Regions from separate parts of the Homo sapiens genome. Here regions 2 and 3 are each linked to region 1. The links are contacts of gene promoters, found by promoter capture Hi-C in human tissues and cell types (Jung and others, 2019). All regions are on one chromosome and are shown on one strand. Each heading gives the region's core, a stretch centred on a gene start or on the middle of the fragment in contact. The rest is flanking DNA. Distances are from core to core; before and after follow the strand shown.

What was found. The method cuts DNA at HindIII sites, captures the fragments that hold promoters and counts their contacts. A contact is called where the count stands out against the background at its distance.
Region 2: a fragment that was not itself captured here is called in contact with the fragment with the promoter of GCSH in region 1 in 1 of the 25 tissues and cell types used here (dorsolateral prefrontal cortex).
Region 3: a fragment that was not itself captured here is called in contact with the fragment with the promoter of GCSH in region 1 in 2 of the 25 tissues and cell types used here (dorsolateral prefrontal cortex and mesenchymal stem cells).

Annotation. Positions count from the first base shown.
Region 1 is chr16:81,094,318-81,098,240 of GRCh38, forward strand. GCSH (glycine cleavage system protein H) reads right to left here and starts at 2,078. Exons shown (of 5, transcript NM_004483.5): 1 at 1,814-2,078. The coding sequence starts at 1,961. RefSeq lists silencers at 1,495-2,164, 2,315-2,414. The HindIII fragment of the contact is 10,346 bases long and covers 1-3,923 here.
Region 2 is chr16:81,700,475-81,704,397 of GRCh38, forward strand. It overlaps CMIP (c-Maf inducing protein), which reads left to right. Exons shown (of 21, transcript NM_198390.3): 16 at 1,186-1,326; 17 at 2,148-2,195; 18 at 3,465-3,611. Among named protein-coding and RNA genes, the nearest start is that of PLCG2, 77 kb to the right of the region's middle. The HindIII fragment of the contact is 8,091 bases long and covers 1-3,923 here.
Region 3 is chr16:81,622,976-81,626,898 of GRCh38, forward strand. The region is part of intron 3 of CMIP (c-Maf inducing protein); the gene reads left to right. Among named protein-coding and RNA genes, the nearest start is that of MIR6504, 14 kb to the left of the region's middle. RefSeq lists enhancers at 453-522, 3,037-3,226 and a silencer at 643-692. The HindIII fragment of the contact is 4,466 bases long and covers 1-3,923 here.

The DNA.
Region 1 (3,923 bases), core at 828-3,327:
AATATTTTATATTAGTATTAGTCAATTTTTCTTCTCTTTTTTTTTTGAGATGGAGGTGTGCTCTTGTCGTCCAGCTACTCCACAGGCTGAGGCAGGAGAAGTGTTTGAACCCGGGAAGCGAAGGTTGCAGTGAGCCAAGATCCTGCCACTGGATGCCAGCCTGGGCGACAGAGCGAGACTCCATCTCAAAAAAGAAGAAAAAAAAAAGGAACGAAAACCACAGACTTGAAACTAAATTCTTATCTGAGAAATGCTTTACCTTTGTATTCAAATTAGTGATGTAGGGATCCCTATCAGAAACAGAGCGGACAGACTATTAGCAAGACAGCATAAGTAAATCTTTATGCTACAAATTTTGGAATAAATTTATCAACCATTCCAGCTCCAAACAGGTTTCTAAAACAATGAGCTAATGAGACAAGAGCCATCACTGATCTACGCAATCGAAGCAGAGGAGCAGTCAGTGTATCAAACATTTGGGCGTAAAGAAAATTGTTGGCCTGGCGCGGTGACGCACGACTGTAATCTCAGCACTTTGGGAGGCTGAGGCGGGTGGATCACTTGAGGTCAGGAGTTTGAGACCAGCCTAACGTGGCGAAACCCTGTCTCTACTAAAAATACAAAACTCAGCTGGAGGTGGTGACGGGCGCCAGTGAACCCAGCTACTCGGGAGGCTGAGGCAAGAGAATCGCTTGAATCTGGGAGGTGGCGCTTGCAGTGAGCCGAGATCACGCCGCTGCACTCCAGCCTGGGCGACAGAGCGAGGCTCCGTCTCAATAAAAAGAAAAAAAAAAAAAAAGAAAATTGTTTTTCCCCTGCAATAATTGTGCTGAAGTAGCACAAATGGCCGAAACATTCATGGGCAGGTTTCCCAGTTATTTCAAGTCCGTTTGAGTTAGGGCTCATTTCAGCAAGCACACACATGAATGATCCAATACAAACTTTAGCAGAACTTCTGTTGAGTCCAGAAGACTTTATCTTACTTGTTTTGGGGAAATAGCTGAATCTTCAAAGTTATGATTGTTTTATCTAGTAAAAAAATCTAGATCTGGCGCTTTAATTTTTTTTTTTTTTTTTTTTTTTGAGGTGGAGTTTTGCTCTGTCGCCCAGGCTGGAGTGCAGTGGCGCGATCTCGGCTCACTGCAACCTCTGCCTCCCAGGTTCAAGCGATTCTCCTGCCTCAGCCTCCCGAGTAGCTGGGATTACATGCGCATGCCGCCACGCCTGGCTAATTTTTTGTACTTTTAGTAGAGATGGGATTTCACCGTGTTAGCCAGGATAGTCTCGATCTCCTGACCTCGTGATCCGCCCTCCGGCATGAGCCAACGCGCCCTGCCTGGTGCTTTAATTTTAATAAGCGCTTCTGTTTTAATTTTACTTCGGAGTTCTCAGTAACGGTCCATTTAGTAAACTAAAGGCCTCCCCATTTGGGGTCTCAACGATGCACGCAGATGGGAGATAAACTTAAGGCCACCGAGACGCTTAAGCGACACGTGCCTGGCTTCTGCAGCAAGCGGCCGACCTGCCCGCCGGACCCGCCGGGCCACCCCCGCCTCGGTGTCCCGCAGGCCTCCCCTCCCGGCTGCATGCAATCCCTAGGGCAAAGGCTACTCGCGGGTCCTCCCGCTACTTAAGGGGGAGAAGCGGCCGCAGAGCCAGGGATCCCAACAGAAATAAGAAGGGGGCAGGGTCCGCGCTCGCTCCGCCCCGGTGGCTCAGGAGCGGTGCCCCGGCGTCCTCCGTGTCCCGCTGGGCCCGGGACAAGCAGCCCAGGCGGGGAGGGAGCAGCCGCCCACGTGCCCGCCGCGCTTACCCGAGAGCAGAGCGGGTCCAGTGCGCAGCGTACGGACGGCGCCCACCCCCAGCTGCCAGGGCCTCGGCGGGCAGGGCGCGGCGGGTGACGGGACCGCGCGCAGGGTGCAGAGCAGGGCCCGCACGCTCCGCACCACTCGCAGCGCCATGTTCGCAGGGGTGCGGGGGTCGCAGCGCTACGCCTCGGCCACCCGCGCCGGGAGGCGGGGCGGGGAGGGGCAGTTCGCGGCCGGAGGGAGCCGGCTGGATGGAGGCGCGGAGGCGGTGCCGCGGGGGCGGGACAGAGCCTGACTGGGCAGAGCGTGGAGGGCGGAGACTCCCAGGCGAGGGGGCGAGGCAGGGTCTGATTGGCCAGCACGCGGAGACTGGGGACTCCAGGGCCTGGCGCGACCTCGGATACGGCGACGCGAAAGAGGGGCGTGGGCATGGGGAAGAACCTGAGGCCCGGAAGAGGCAGCACCGAGAGGCGGAGACTAGCGCGGCGGGCCTGGGTATGATTGGGCTGCCCGCAGGAGGGGGGCGGGGCCTAGCCCCAGACTGGGTTCCTTTCCACATGTGTATCTCTTTTACTGCCTCTGTCATAAGTTTTCAAAGGTGGTTTCACCACCTCACGAAGGAATTCAAGAACAAGTCGGAAAGTCGTGAAAGTACAGAGGTTTACTGCAAAGTACACACTGAAGAAAGGGCGGACTCAAAAGAGGGCCACACAATGGGGCTTGGGGTTTCCATCTTTATGGGTTTCTTTGAGAAATGGAATATACACAAAGGTTTCTGGAATAAGGTGGAGACTTGTCAGAACTGTGGTGCCACCCATTTTTACACCAAATATGGGTGTTCCCGGAATTGTTGTGGTGCCGGTGGGTGTGTGACTTAGTATGTTAATGAGTCCTAGGTGAAGCCTAGGTCAAAGCCACACCACGTTGGGTCCAGTTGGTTTTAGCCAGGTTGACCCACACCCTGGTTTTTCAGGGTCTTAGCCCATAGCTTGTGCAGCTATTTCAACAGTTTCCTTTTGTTAGACAGAACTGCAGCCTGGAAGTTTCTATTCTCCTTCAACTGCTCTGTAACGTTCCTGTCTCAAAGAGCCCCAGGGACCCCAAACAGGACCGGCAGAATCCAGAAGCTTACTTAAAAAGGAATAAAGACTTGTCCAAGGGTCATAAGTGGCTTCTTGGTGGAGACTGGACCCAAGCCAGTCACTAATGCAGAAATATTCAAAACGCAGAGAGCTGAGACCCAGTGTGCACAATTCCTTGTTTCATCGGCCAGCGGTGTGACCAAGGCCTTCCGAGAAAAGCCGAAGTCATCATCCCAATCCAAGAAGTCAGAAAAAAATTAGGTTCTGGGAAAAACCTCACCTTTAACACAGATTTTATGGAGTGGCCATGAGTCAGCAAAGAAATACTGTTCTGAAAAACACCTTAAGCTACACACACACCTTTAGTACTGTTACAGAAAGGGCTCCCAATCCAGACCCCAAGAGAGGGTTTTTGGACCTCATGCAAGAAAGAATTTGGGGAGAGTCTATAAAGTGAAAGCACGTTTAATAGAGAAGTAAAGAAAAAAAAGAATGGCTTCTTCGTAGACAGAGCAGCAGTATGGCTTCTCGACTAAGTGTACTTATAGTTATTTCTTGATTGTATGCTAAACAAGGGGTGGATCATTCAAGAGTTCTCCAGAAAAGGGGCAGGGATTTCCTAGAACTAACGGTTCCTCCGCTTTTTGGACTATAGGGTAACTTCTCTGGACGTTGCCATTGCATTTGTGAACTGTCATGACGCTGGTGGGAGTTGTTTTTTTTTTAACATGCTAATGCATTATAATTAGCGTATAATGAGCAGTGAGACCTACCAGAGGTCGCCATCTTGGTTTTGGTGAGTTTTGGCCAGCTCCTTTACCGCATCCTATTTTATCAGCAGGGACTTTGTGACCTGTATCTTGTGCCAACCCTAGCTCATCCTGTGACTAAGTGAGGCAGGTGAATCACTTGAGGTCAGGAGTTCGAGACCAACCTGGCCAACATGGAGAAACCCCCGTCTCTACTACAAATCCAAAGTTTAGCCAGGCATGGTGGCAGGTGCCTGTAATCCCAGCTACTCAGGAGGCTGAGG
Region 2 (3,923 bases), core at 612-3,111, 610 kb after region 1:
GCCATGTCACTTTTTAACTTAGCCTCCCTTGGAAGGCAGGCGGCATCACTTCTGCCACATCCTCCTGCTGGCAGTGAGTCACCGCGGCCGGCCCTCAGTCAAAGCCGTGGGAGCTAGACTTCACCCCTCAGTGGGAAGAGCATCGAAGAGTTGGCAGGCGCAGCAAAGCCATGGGAGCTCCCGTGGAAATGAGAGTTCGGGCAGATGTGAGCCCTGGGGAAGAGGCAGCGGGAAGGTGGGAGCTGAGCAGGCTGTGGGGACATCCCGGGCGGAGGCTTGCTGGAGGCCAGGGTGGCTGGAACACAGGGAGCCAAGGGGCAAGAGGTCTGGGATGTGGCTGGATGGGCATGAAGAGCCTTCTGGGTACCTAGAGGTGCTGGGAAGGAGTTTGGATTTAATCTTGGCTGTCCTGTGACAGGGATTCGGAGGCCATGGGGGAGGGCTGAGCAGGGAGACAGGAGACAGGCAAGAGGCGCTGTGAGAAGCGTGGGCTGAGTGACCTGCTCCTTGGTGAGTGAGAAGTTCTAGAACTGAGCACCATGGCATGCACCTGTAGTTCCAGCAACTTGGGATGCTGAGGTAGGAGGATCACTTGAGCCCAGGAGGTTGAAACTAGCCTGGGCAACATAGCAAGACCTCATCTCAAAAAAAAAAAAAATCGTCATTGGAAAGGGAATGTCAGAGGCAGGGCTGTCAGGCGTGTTGACCCCCAGGCCGAAGAGCCACATGTGCAGTCATGAGGCCCTCTAGGAAGCTGTGTGGTAGATGGGCCCAGGGCTCTGAGCCATTCCGTGAGTTTGAGCACCTACTTCATGACAGCCACTGGGGAAGGAACTGGGGAGAGAGAGGTGTCTTAACTTCTGGCCTTTCCACCAGTGCTCAGGGGCCTGCAAACATCCCCCGGGGGCCTGCCCCATGTCCAGACACCGCACGGTAAGCAGATGCCTGGGAGACTCCCATGTCCATTGACATTTGAACCTGGAGAACCTCAGTGCGTGGTCACTGGTGCTACCATTGTACAAGCAGGAAGTTGGGCAGGTGATTTGCCCAGGCTTACACAGCCGGGGCTGCAGAAAGGGGATAGTGGGGTTGCTGGTTTTCAAAACAAGGCCCTTGGGGTGCACAGAGTGTGCTGAGCTAGGGTGGCAGGCCGGGTCCGTAATGCACCCCTGCGGTTCTGGACAGATCCTGTGCTTGATGCTGGAATACAACATCATCGACAACAACGACACCCAACTGCAGATCATCTCAACCCTGGAGAGCACAGACGTGGGGAAGCGCATGTACGAGCAGCTGTGTGACCGGCAGCGGGAGCTGAAGGAGCTGGTGAGTCCCCGGCTGCTCCGGACCACTCCCCTGCCCAGCAGGCCAGGGGGGGCCAGGGCGGGATGCGGGGCAGCTAGTACTTGGACCTGAGTGGACCTCAATCTCGTTGAATTCTCCTCCAAACCCCAGAAATTGGTATTACCACCTGCCACTTTTCAGGTAATCAAAGAGAAGCAAAGCAATCCCCAGAGTCACACAGCTCATTGGGGCCTGGCCAGGACATTGCCCACCCTCCCTCCTCCATGTCCCTTAGACCCTTCCATTTCAGTACATGGGGGACCCAACTTCCAAATGCCAGCACCCACACCTCTTTGCTGAAGGACTTTGTATGTCCACATGCATATACTCACACATGTGTACACAGAAGGACGGAAGGGGCAGGAAATTCATGCCTTCTGATCTCCTGGAGCAGCCCTCAACCAGTCCCTTCTGGGGAGAGTGTGTAGAAATACCCCAGCTCCCTCACCCCTTCAGTGAGATATGTTTGAGACATGGCTTCTCCACCATTTCTTAGAGTCCCCCGGTGGGATTTGGTGCCAGTACCCACCCAGTGATAGCTGGATTGATAACACCCCTTCCATTATAGGTAGCCACAGTGTCACTTCCCCACTCTCCCACTGGTGTTTCTTGGGATCACCCTCCAGTAAACCACCTGTGCTCAAACCTCATCTCCGGGTTTGCCCCTGAGACCAAGACCACCGTGTTGCCTTGTACCACCAAGAAAATAACGATGGCTCCATGAGTGTTGTTAACAGAGGTGGAAGTCTAGAATGGAAACTTGGGGAAAAGAATGGTTGTAACCAGCCTGGTTTCTGTTGCAGCAAAGGAAAGGCGGGCCCACCAGGCTAACACTGCCCTCCAAGTCCACAGTGAGTTGGTTTGGTTCTCTTTGGGGCTGGATGGAGAAGGTGGGTTGGTCCTCTCTGTTGGGGAACGGCAGGTGGTGTCTGCTGCTGAGATGGGAGGTGATGGAGGGCGGGGCACAAGGACCCCCTAGTACTTAACACGCCAGCTCTTCCAGGAGGTAGCTGGGTTACAGGAAGAGAAATGAAAACCAAAAAGGAAGTTAAAATATGATACAGATTGTTGGTGATAATAGTGTTGATATCTAGTTATTAATAGTACTTGGAATAATAGCAGATATACCTTGAGCATTTGTGTGTCAGATGCTCTTCTATTAGTTTGTTTTATCCTCACAGCAACCCTTGGAAGCTTGTGTATCTTACCATTCGCATTTCACAAGGTCTTTAAGGGTCTTATTTCCTTCTATTCTGATGCCCCCATTATATTTGACACATGGCTTCTACTTCCTGGACCAAAAGGGCTGCTCAGGCTCCAGACCTCTTGTCTCCATTCCAGCCAGCAGGAAGGAGAACGTGCCCCTTCCTCTTAAGAAACTTCCTGGAAGTTCTACTTGACATGTCTACTTACATCCCATTTTCCAGATTTAGTGTGTGGGGCCACACACTAAATCAGCCTTCATTCCGGGCAGCCACAGGGCCGCTGACACTCAAGGATGGAGGGGAGTGTGGAGGTTGTCTTAGGAACCTCCCAGTCCGGTGCTCAGGCATGCGCTGGTGTCTTCAGGCATTAGAGTTGAGTGTGGCCTCAGTGTTGGCATGAGCTGCTGCCCAGGAGTGAGGCAGCCAGTCACACACCCTGATGCACAGACACAGACACACAGAGACACACCAACACACACACACACAAATATACACAGACGTGCACAGACACACACATGTACAGACACATGCATACACAAACGTGCACACAGACACACACAGATATACACACATACAGGCACACACACACAGACACACACACACACAGACGCCTGTGGGAGGATCGTGGCCTTGGAACACCCCGCTGGTGCCTCAGGGTGTGAGTCACAGCACTGGAGGCTTTCTCCTCCGCCTGGCAGCTGTCGTCCATGGGATGCGTGGCAGCCCCTCCCTCTCTGGCCACCCCCTTGGCCCATCCCACCGAGCTGTGCCCCCATCTCAGCTCCTGGGATTTACCGCCCCCCAGGAACAGCTCTCTGTAGGGCGAGGGGAGAGGAGGAGGATAGGGGATAGGAGGGCTCAGGGTCTCGGGAACTCCCAGCAGCACCCTCAGGCCTCTCCCCCGTCTGCCCGCAGGACGCTGACTTGGCTCGTTTGCTGAGCTCCGGCTCCTTCGGAAACCTGGAGAACCTCAGTTTGGCCTTCACCAATGTAACCAGTGCCTGCGCCGAGCACCTCATCAAACTGCCTTCGCTCAAGCAGCTGAACCTGTGGTCCACTCAGGTACGTCCTCCCGCCCTGCTGCAGTCCCCCACACCCTCCTCCTTCACCTCTGCACTCTCCTCCCTATTCCCCCGTACCATCTTCCTTTCCCCTCAGCCTCCTCCCTGCCCCCTCCCCCTCCTTCCTGCCCCCTCCCCCTCCTCCCTGCCCCCCTTACTCTCCTCCCTGCCCCTTCACCCTCCTCCCTGCTCCCCTCACCCTCCTCCCTGCCCCCTCACCCTCCTCCCTGTCCCCCTTACTCTCCTCCCTGCCCCCTCACCCTCCTCCCTGCCCCCCTTACTCTCCTCCCTGCCCCTTCACCCTCCTCCCTGC
Region 3 (3,923 bases), core at 570-3,069, 530 kb after region 1:
GGCGGGTAGTCTAACTCAGGAGTTCAAGACCAGCCTGGGCAGCATGGCAAAATGCCATCTGTACCAAAAATACAAAAAATTAGCCGGGCGTAGTGGTGCGCCCATGTGGTCCCAGCTACTTGGGAGGCTGAGGTGGGAGGATCACTTGAGCCCAGGAGATGGAGGTTGTAGTGAGCCAAGATTGGTCCACTGCACTCCAACCTGAGTGATAGAGTGAGACCCCCATGCCCCACCCCAAAAATGTTAAGGTTTGCATGTGGGATTCAGACAGTTGATTGAGCAAGTCCAGAACTGGGATCACTGTGTTTCTAGCAGCTCTCATGAAGACCTGGATGTTTGCATTCAATTATGGTGGCATCCGGTTTATTTATGGTTGCTAAATTTAATCAAGCAGTTTAAAAAATTTTCAGAAAACCTAAATCAGGATGTCAAGGAACTGGCAGATGCCTGGGTGTGTGCTGGCCCACTTGCCAGGTGATCAATGGTAGTCTTTGCTCTCAGGGTGTAAGCTTTGGCTGTGTCTACAGCATGCTTCAGACACAGTGTTTCTCCTTGGACAATTGCCCCCCAATAATTTAGGTATGCTGCCACCAGGTGGCAGTGATATTTCAGTGTTGGCAACTTGATCTCAATTCCTGTGGCTCTTTGTACCCAGTTTTGGTGATATTTGAGAAGGCATGCTCTCCTTCCTTTTAAAATGGCAAAGAAACGTAAGGTGTTTTGGAGGTACCGCCAGCTAGCCAAATTAGCTGGGAAACGTGAATTTGGATCCTGGTTCTGTGGGCAGATTCCAGAAAGTGTTCACCTAATACAGATGCAGTTACTGAGTACATGTGAGATGCCAGGGCTGGCTAGGTCATTTCTGGTTCATTGTCGTTAAGCAGGTAATAGAACCAAGGCTCAGAGAGATCAAGTGACTTGCCTACAGTTGCCCAGCAGATTTCAATCCAGATCTGTGGGGCTGTCCTACCTCCTCCTTGATCACACCGTGCTTTTCTCTGAGATTGGGACTCCACAGCCCTCCCAGGACATAACCCCTCTGCTTCTGCTGATACAGCCACTCTCTCTCCCCTCTTTATTTACAACCACCTATTTGAGGTTTTTCTTTTTCTTTTCCTTCCTTGTTTCTTTTCTCTTTTCTCTGTCTTTAACTGAAAAAAAAAAAAAATCAGTGGAACATCAAAATTGAGGACCTTTAGAAATTCCACCACCTCAGCTTGAATTTTTTAACTCTCTTTTGTTTTTATTATTATACTTTAAGTTTTAGGGTACGTGTGCACAACGTGCAGGTTTGTTACATATGTATATATGTGCCATGTTGGTGTGCTGCACCCATTAACTTGTCATTTAACGTTAGGTATATCTCCTAATGCTATCTTGTTTTTGTCATTTTCTCTCCTACACCAATATACATTTGTCTCCTGTGGCTGCGGTGCACATACTGTCAGAATACGTTCTCCTGTATGTAAAGAATGCCACTTCCAGCCTGGGCGAAAGTGCGAGACTCCGTCTCAAAAAAAAAAAAAAAAAATGCCACCTCCTAAATACTGTGTCCCCATTGCTTAGTTTTGATCAAGTTGGACTTGCATCTCTAGGCCATTCCCAACAGGGGCAGCATCACCCCTAATGGGACCAAAATTGGTTCCTTGACACTTAAACAAATCTTAATGATTACAATAGTCTGTGGCCCTCCAAAGCTCGACCCTATTCAATGAAATCTTATTCTTGAGTATTTCTTCCAAAGGGAGGACAGATGAGGGAGACACTAGGGTTCCTTATGGGGACAGTCATGATAACAGGGTCGATTGACAACCGCTGCTATGGAATTGACCTCAAATTGTTTTGTGGAAGAAGGCAAATATCCAGGTCATCTTGGTCACGCTTTTCCGTCTGGGTAACAGTGTTGTTTTTGTGGCATCAGCTCAGAACTTTGAGCTGTTCACACACGGTTGTAGCTCCCATGTTGGAGGAGTTTGCTCGGCAATGGACACTGCATTTTGTGAATTACTTCCTCTCACTGAATAGGTTCTGTTCTTATCAACATTTGCAGATGGGGAAACCTGAGTGTAGAGAGGATAAGTCAGTCGCACAAGGTTCCAAGGCCACCAAGAAGGCAAGCGGGATTAGACCCTGAACATCTTTGCCTCTTTCTCTGAGCAGCTCTGCTCTTCCTCCCAGCCCTCCCGGCCTGGCCTCTGCCATGTTGGTCTGGGAGATCTGAGGAGGCCTGGAGCCTGCAGGAGGAGGGCCAGGATCTCCCAGCCCATGGCTGCTCCACCTCCCAGCATTCGCTAGAGCAGAAGCTGCAGTCCTGAGGGCCCCTGGGGAGGCCAGCCCTGTTTGGTTTGGGTGGTTCAGCCCTTGAGGCTAATTCCCAGGGGTGTGGAAGCATTAAATAGTTATTCTGGGTTAATGAGGCTTCATTTCTGACTCAGATGTACCTCCTGGCTCATGCCCTGGCCCTCAGAGGCCAAGCCCTGTGGTGACAGGCCTGTCTGCACATGAGGCTGTGAGGGCACAGGCCTGTGTGCACACGAGGCCATGAAGGCCCAGTCTGTGGGGCAAGGCCAAGAGCGTGTTCAGGCTGTGAGGGGACCGTGTGTGTTTACAAAGCATTGAGAAGATTGGCCTGTTTCTGTGTCCAGGGTTTCAAGGTGAGAGACCCAGGTATGCACAGCTGTGAGGGACAAGTCTGTCCATGTGAACAGGCCCAGGTGACAGGTCCAGGCTACTGGGCTGTGAGGAGACACACACCAGGCTCCTAGAGGAGCCCCGAGAAGCCAGGATGCACCTGCTATGGGAGCTGGAGCTCCTGGTGCCTCTCCACCTTCTCGCTTCCTGAGAGGGGTTCCTCAGGCCGAGGCACACTAGTCCTGGAAACCAAGATGGTTTTTCCCCAGGGGAAGTGAGGTCACTCAGAACAGCCCCAGGGGCCAAGCCCCAGAGCCGGGGACCAATGAGCAGACTGTGTGTCACAAGAAGCTGGCCTGTATTCCTGTCCCAGGGCTGCCAGGGCCAGAGGAGTGCCCTTGGCTCTGGGAAAATCCCAGCCCAGCTTTGGATCCTTTCTGGCTGCCTGCCCTGGCCACGCTGCCTTCTTCTTGCTGGGCAGGTTTCCCAGCCCCCTAGGGTGGCCACAGCCCCTCGATCACCGCATCCAGGCCCAGGCCTCTGTCCCTCCTCTGTGGAGAAAGGTGGAAAAGAATGTGGGGTGTGTGAGTGTGAGAGTGAGTGTGTGTGCGCGTGAGAATGTGTGTAAGAGTGAATGTGTGAGTGTGTGTGAGAGCGAGAGTGACTGAGTGTGACTGTGTGTTGTGTGGGGTGACTATTTTATGAGTGTGGTGAGGTGACTGGTGTGTCTGTGTGTGGTGTGTGAGGTGACTGTTTTGAGTATGTGTGGTGACTATTTTATGAGTGTGTGTGGCGTGTGGGGTGACTATGAGTGTGTGTGGGGTGTGGGATGACTATCTTATGAGTGTGTGTGTGTATGTGTGGCATGTGGGGTGACTTTTATGAATGTGTGGGGTGACTGAGCATGTGTGTGTGTGGTGTGTGGGGTGACTATGGGTGTGCATGTGTGTGTGGTGTGTGGGTGGCTTATGAGTGTGTGAGTGGTGTGTGGGGTGACGGTGTGCGTGTGTGTGTGGTGTGTGGGTGGCTTATGAGTGTGTGTGTGTGGTGTGTGGGGTGACTATTTGTGTGTATATGTGGCATGTGGGGTCATTTGTATGAGGGTGTGTGGTGTGGGGAGATTATTTTATGACAGTGGGTGTGGGTGTGTGTGTGGTGTGTGGAGTGACAGAGAGAGAGAGAGTGTGTGTGTGTGTGTGTGTGTGTGTGTGGGGTGCATATGGGGTGACTATTTTATGAGTGTGTGTGTGTGTCCTGTGGGGTAACTATTTTATGTGTGTGTGTGTGGCCTG